Linked DNA regions of Homo sapiens: region 2 is linked to region 1. Evidence: promoter capture Hi-C in human tissues and cell types (Jung and others, 2019). All regions are on one chromosome and are shown on one strand. Each heading gives the region's core, a stretch centred on a gene start or on the middle of the fragment in contact. The rest is flanking DNA. Distances are from core to core; before and after follow the strand shown. Region 1 holds the start of DTD1 (D-aminoacyl-tRNA deacylase 1). Region 2 overlaps SLC24A3 (solute carrier family 24 member 3).

Region 1 (3,439 bases), core at 591-3,090:
TGTTCCAATAATAAGCTTTTCCTTTTCTTGATTTTTCTGGCCAGGATACCACCCAGGTTAATTTAGTTTTCCTGTCTTTTTTTTTTTTTTTTTTTTTTTTGAGACAGAGTCTTGCTTTGTCACCCAGGCTGGAGTGCAGTGGCACGATATCGGCTCACCGTAACCTCCGCCTCCCGGGTTCAAGCAATTTTCTTGCCTCAGCCTCCCGAGTAGCTGGGATTACAGGCATGCGCTGCCATGCCTGGCTAATTTTTGTATTTTTAGTAGAGACGGGGTTTCACCATGTTGGCCAGGCAGGCCTCGAACTCCTGACCTCCAATGATCCGCCCACCTTGACCTCCCAAAGTGCTGGGATTACAGGTAGTTTTCCTGTCTTTTAAAAAGTCCACGGCTGGGCGCAGTGGCTCATGCCTGTAATCCCAGCACTTTGGGAGGCCAAAGCGGGCAGATCACCTGAGGTCGGGAGTTCGAGACCAGCCTGACCAACATGGAGAAATCTCATCTTTAATAAAAATACAAAATTAGCCGGGCGTGGCGGCGCATGCTTGTAATCCCAGCTACTCAGGAGGTTGAGGCAGAAGAATTGCTTGAACCCAGGAGGCAGAAGTTGTGGATAGCCAAGATCACACCATTGCACTTCAGCCTGGGCCACAAGAGCAAAACTGCATCTCAAAAAAAAAAAAAAAAAAAATCCTCCTTAATTCTCGGAATCCTACCTGGTTATTTTGTAGAATGTTCCTCAATTTATTTTTGTCCTATGTTTCATCATGATTGGATTCAGGTTATACATTATTTGGCAGAAATACCACAAGATTGATGTTGTGTCCTTCCCAGTGCAATATCAGGAGGCACATGATGTCTTGTTACTGGTTATGTTAACTTTGACAACGTTATTAAGGCAATTTAGTATTCAGTATTTAACAAACAAGCACACTAGTTTGTAGTCTTTTCTGGGCAAGTGAGGGTTTCTTCTCAATTTCAGTGCCTTTTCTACGCCCACCAATGCTATTAGTCACCTTTAAGGTGAAGACTGCTGAGATGGAATTATTTTTAGCAATGATAATAATTTGTTGGGGTAATAGTTGTACAGCCCTTTGCTGCCATCTAAGCACTTTTACGTGGTTTGGTTCATTTAAATCTAACAACCCAGTGAGGGGGCCAATTAGTAGCATTTATATTACATGAGAAATTAGAATTCTAGAATCACATACCTATTTATTATCATGACATGGCTAAGTCGAATTAATAGTGAGATAGGTAAATGGCTATTTTAGGCAGCAGATCCTTTTGTATGTGGTATCTGAAAAGCCACTGAGGCAGGAAGACAAGGAAGAAGAATTTGGGAGGATCTGCGTGCAGAGGAGTGGAAGAGGAAAGAGGAATACAATTAGAAATAGGATTCAGGCTGAATTTAAAGGCTTAGTGATGACGGGTTCTTAGGTTCGGGTATGTGGGAGAAAAAAACCAGCATAGAGACTACCTTCGGGGCAGAGTGGGTTCTGGGCACTGGGTAGGGGCTGGGCCCGGGATGGGGGGATCAAAGGGCTCTGGCGGGACCCAGATGTGGATGGGGCAGGGCCGAGCGTGGGGACTGGGCTTTTCAATGACGGGCGGGGTTACGGTTGGGCAGCAGGTGGGCGTGGCAGGCATAGGCGGAGTCAATCTATGAGTGGGTGGGCCTATCGCCAGGCCGAGAGTGGGCGTGGCCGACGTGGGGTGGGTAGCAGCCGACCGAGTCGGACCGGCCAGTTGGGCGCGCTTCCGGGTGTCACCTCCAGAGGGCGCCGGCTGCGGAGCCGCCCTCAGAGTCGCGAGGCCGGACGCAGCGCGGCGCCGCCCCACTCGCCCCAGCCGCCGCCATGAAGGCCGTGGTGCAGCGCGTCACCCGGGCCAGCGTCACAGGTCAGTCGGGCGGGGCCGGGCCCGGGAGGAGCCGCCCCTGACCCCCGCGACCGGCTGTCTTGCGTGGGGGGTCTTCCTGCGCCATCCTTGGGGCCGCTGCGGCCCCTCCGCGAGCCTGGTCCCCTTCGCGAGCTCGGTCCGCGCAGCCGCGAGTCCCCAGGGCCGGCTTCGGGGCAGCGCGGCGGCCGGAGAGCCCCCTGCACGTGCCCGACCGGCCCCGGCGCGCCCCTGGCTTCCGGCTCTCGGCAGAGGGTGCAGGACCAGCGCGCCTCATTCTCAGCACCTTTGTCCTGCGTGCGGGATGGCGGAGCCTCGGAGCATCTCCGTGGTCCGCTCTTCAGGGAGTGTTGATGAACCACGCTTAGAGCATTTCCGGAGCAGGCACTCCTCCCTTTTCACTGCTGTATTTTAAATGTTCAATTTTTGCCCATTTTTACGTATTCCAATTTTTATGGGGCTTGACTCAGGATGAAATGCACAGATGCGGAGAGTTGCTCCTTGGGCTGAGCTTTGACAGTTGCGTGCACGTACGTGACTGGAGCCTAGGCTGGATGAGGGGCGCCCCCTGCCCAGGACGCCCCTCGCCCTCGCCCGCTGAACTCTGCGCGGAGGGGTCGGGATCTAAAGAATTCAAGATGAAAACATTTCTCTTTTTCTTGTGGACCAAGCTACCCGACCCCTGGTCATCACTCAGCACTTTCGTCTCGGTTGGGCATCAGAGGTCCAGATGATTAGTGTAGATAAAGTAGTCGTTTTAAGAAAACCACGGTACGAAAGATATTTTTTAAAAAACATTTAAATGACAAGCTTTATATTGTCTTTAGTCTTTTCTGTCTTTATTGGCACAACTATATTGTTTCAGTTCAAATAATTTCAGATATCCTGTCCTTGGAGCCAGTCTGCACCAAATATGCGTTCTTGTGTCCACAAAAGTATGAATTAAAAACAAAACAGGCCGGGGGCTGTGGCTCACACCTGTAATCCCAGCTCTTTGGGAGGCCAAGGCGGGCAGATCACCTGAGGCCAGGAGTTCGAGACCAGCCTGGCCAACATAGAGAAACCCTATCTCTACTACAAATACAAAAATTAGCCGGGAGCGGTGGTTGGTGCCTATAATCCCAGCTACTCGGGAGGCTGAGGTAGGAGAATCGCTTGAACCCGGGAGGCAGAGGTTGCAGTGAGCCGAGATTGTGCCAGTAACCTCCAGCCTGGGCGACAGAGCGAGACTCTGTCTCAAAAAACAACAAACAAACAAAACCCCAAAACAAAAAACAAAACAAAACAAAAACAACAAAAAACCCTAAAGAAACAACCAAACCCACCAAAACCGTATATTTAAATCTAAGAGTCTATTTTTCAACCCCGCCTAATGATTTCTAAGCTGTTCTGGTAGCTTTGGTTTTGGAAATGGTCCTGGAATAATAGGGAATAGAGTAGCACTGGGATTTAGGAATTTTAAAGCTTTTATAACATTTCTGTAGATATTTAAATTCATGAAAACTGGGAAAATTCATAGATGAAAGATGTTTTGCATTAT
Region 2 (3,439 bases), core at 536-3,035, 640 kb after region 1:
CTTTATTTTTTCATCCGCCTATTCTTAGATTCAGGCTCTTAGTCAACGTATTTATTCACCATTTGTATGGTTTACTTTTTAAAAAATTTAACTCTTTACTTCATTTGGAATTTATTTTAGCATAAGATTAAAATTTAATTTAAACAGATTAACATATTTAATAGTTAATTCCAGAATTGTTTATTGACTACTGTTTCCTCTACCTCCACATTTGTGGTATCACCTTTATTCCATGCCTATTCTCTTATGTACCAGAGGCAAATATTTTATGATATTTATTTTGTTATATTTACTCATTAATTAATTGTAACTTATTAGCATGTTAATTATCTGGTAGGTCAAGACACCTTTCCTGTTTTTTGAAAAAACTATTTATTTATTGTTATCACTCATTTATCTTTCCAGATGAATTTATAATCCTTTACATTTTCTCCAAATCCTTCTAGGTTTTGATAAATCTATAAATAATTTATGGAAAAATGGCATTTTATAATGTTGATTCTTTTTGTTCATAGTGTGTTTCTTCATTTGATAAAGGCTTTTAAAAAATTTGTCAAGATTCATGATTATTTCTCTATTTCTTCCTTACATTTACTGGTGAAGGTTACTCTGGTATTTATTATTTGTTGTTGCTCTTGTTTCATCCCTTAATAGTCTTTTAAAATATTGCTTCTTTATATTTTATTCTTAAAAATGTGAAATTATACAATACTGAAAATAAACTTATTCTATGAATCAATATCTTTAGGTTCATTCTGTAGCTGAGGAGTTTTTTTACTGTTGGAAGACTATGTGCTGTCCATTGGGGTATGGATCCCCTTGGCTATTAGTGACACTGGTTACTTTTCATTATGCTGTGGAAGTTTCCTTTCATTTGTGGTTTTCTATATTAGAAAAAAATCAGGGCCGGGCGCGGTGGCTCACGCCTGTAATCCCAGCACTTTCGGAGGCTGAGGTGGGCGGATCACGAGGTCAGGAGATCAAGACCATCCTGGCTAACACTGTGAAACCTTGTCTCTACTAAAAATACAAAAAATTAGCCGGGCGTGGGCGTGGTGGTGGGCGCCTGTAGTCTCAGCTACTCGGGAGACTGAGGCAGGAAAATGGCGTGAACCCAGGAGGCGGAGCTTGCAGTGAGCTGAGATCACGCCACTGCACTCCAGCCTGGGTGACAGAGCTAGACTCCGTCTCAAAAAAAAAAAAATTAGCCATGGATGTTGAATGTGATCAAATGCCTTATTAACACTTATTAAAGTGTTTAATATAACAATATATATAGAAAAAAATATCCTTACTAAAGCACTTCTGAAAGTGAATCTTACAAAGGCATGACATATATTTTTAATATGATGCTGGATTTTATTTATTTGCATTTTCTATGAAATTTTTGCCTATATATTTATGAAAGAAATAGACATATAGCTCCTTTGCCAGGTTTTGGTGTCAGGATCACACTAACTTTACAAATGAATTGATAATTTCTATGTTCCTCTATGTTCTGGAATATTTTATGAAGCATGGAAATTATTTGTATATTGAAAATTTGACAAAAGCACTTATAGTGCTGCCTGCCTTACAGTCTTCTATGAAGATAATTTTGAACAAACTTTAATTTCTTTCATTGATACTTTTCTGTGTGGGTAATTTATGTTTTCCTAGAGAAGTGTTAATTTCATTAATATTTTAGAAATGAACAAAATTATGAAGTACTTTTTTTGTTTTAATTTGTTCTGTAATTGAGATCATATAAACTTTTCTCAGTACTAACGTATATGTTTATTTTTTTCATTGATAAAATCTGACTGTATTTGGTGTATTTTATCAATTTGTGAAAATTTGTATCTTGTATTTCTTCATTAATTTTTCTCTTTTCCCTTTTCCCTGAGTCAGTAAAGCTTTAATATTTATTCAAAATCTCCTCTTAATTCCTGTGTTTATTTTCAAATATCTTGAATGAAATGCTTTATTTCCTTTTTATTATTTCTTGCTTTATAATGCATTTGATGTTTAGTGTAGCTTTAGACTCAAACTATAAGTTTTGAAATGTCATGCAGTCATTATTGGTACTTTTCAAATAGTCTTGTAATTATAGTTTTTATTTTTTCTGCAATTAATTATTTGAGAGACTGAATTTTAACTTCTAAGTTGTTGGAGTGTGTGTGTGTATATATATATATGTATATATACCAAGTTCTAATTTTATTTCGTTTTGCCTGGAGAATATGACCTTTAATTGTGGCTTCTTGTTGGTTTTGGTTGTTTCCCTTGGAACATGAACTGTTTGTAATTTGGATAGTTATTTGGCTGTGTCTTCATCTTTTTGTCTTTTCCTCTTCATTCTGTAAGAGCCTATGTTTTTTTCCCCTTGGTAATTTGATTTTCAGCACTATTGGGTCTGCTGTCTGCTGCCTCTTATTCCCATTTATGTTTTGTGTTTGCATTTCTGGTTTTTTAACCATTTTATGTCTTGTCATCTCCATCTTAGCTGACTCCCCTTGTAATCTTAGCCTTTTCCATTTAGTGATTTTTCTTTCATATATCCTATGTTTATTTGATATTGAGATTAAAAAAAATGGATTCCAAAATTTACATCTTCTTCCCATAATAGATTTTTTTTTTTTTTAGAAGAATAGTGTTTTACTTCAGATGTTGCAGAGAATTTTCAAAATTGTCTTGAGTTATCAACCTTGAAAGAGAAGGTCCAGGCCGGGGGTGTGCCTGTGAACAGACCCTCCTGTCCCTTCAGCGCCCTCACCACTCTCACCTGGTCACAATTGTCAGGTTACTGTGAGCATCGCTTATGCTGAAGGGGTGGTTGTTGTGCATGGTCCCTGGCCAACCTTCCAGTGTTGATGTTGACTTTTCTAGGGTGACTCAGCTTGCCTGAGAGGGGATCTCCTGCTCCTTCTACCTTGTAGTTAGAATACTGAGGTGGAACCTTATTCATTATAATTTTGATCAGTGATAGTTCTTCCTAGTTCTTATATCTAGAGACAGTGTGTGAAAATCTGCCACCCTGGTTTGATCCCTCCTGTGGCTCTTTCCATCGCACCTCTTTTCTATTAATCTCCAGAAGGCTCCATACCACCCTCCTTTTGCTTCTTTGCCTAGTTGAGTTGCATTTCCGGGAACTGGGGTCTCTGAATGGATGGGTATAGAAAGACATATTGATGGGGGGGAATGGATGGGTATAGAAAGACATATTGATGGGGGGGGTGCCCTTTACAACAGTTCCTTTCAGCAACAAATGCCTCATGTTTCTGAGATGGGATTCACACCTGGGGACCCATGTGCCCTTCCACAGTCCGCATGTCACAATCCCTTCTTGTGTGTTAGGCATTCATCCACACTCAGCTTCTTTTATGCATCTCTGTATTTCCTTCAGTGGGAATGACCCATTGAAGGGTCATTGGGTCCTAATGCTAGGCTAATGACCATG

What was found. The method cuts DNA at HindIII sites, captures the fragments that hold promoters and counts their contacts. A contact is called where the count stands out against the background at its distance.
Region 2: a fragment that was not itself captured here is called in contact with the fragment with the promoter of DTD1 in region 1 in 1 of the 25 tissues and cell types used here (dorsolateral prefrontal cortex).

What each region holds. Positions count from the first base shown.
Region 1 is chr20:18,586,214-18,589,652 of GRCh38, forward strand. It overlaps DTD1 (D-aminoacyl-tRNA deacylase 1), which reads left to right and starts at 1,841. Exons shown (of 6, transcript NM_080820.6): 1 at 1,841-1,902. The coding sequence starts at 1,860. LOC124904878 (a long non-coding RNA gene) reads right to left here and starts at 1,252. Exons shown (of 3, transcript XR_007067547.1): 1 at 1,212-1,252. RefSeq lists a silencer at 1,668-2,207 and enhancers at 1,978-2,477, 2,318-2,377. The HindIII fragment of the contact is 3,504 bases long and covers 1-3,036 here.
Region 2 is chr20:19,227,454-19,230,892 of GRCh38, forward strand. All of the region lies in intron 1 of SLC24A3 (solute carrier family 24 member 3), which reads left to right. All of the region lies in intron 1 of LOC124904879 (a long non-coding RNA gene), which reads left to right. Among named protein-coding and RNA genes, the nearest start is that of SLC24A3, 17 kb to the left of the region's middle. The HindIII fragment of the contact is 7,240 bases long and covers 1-3,439 here.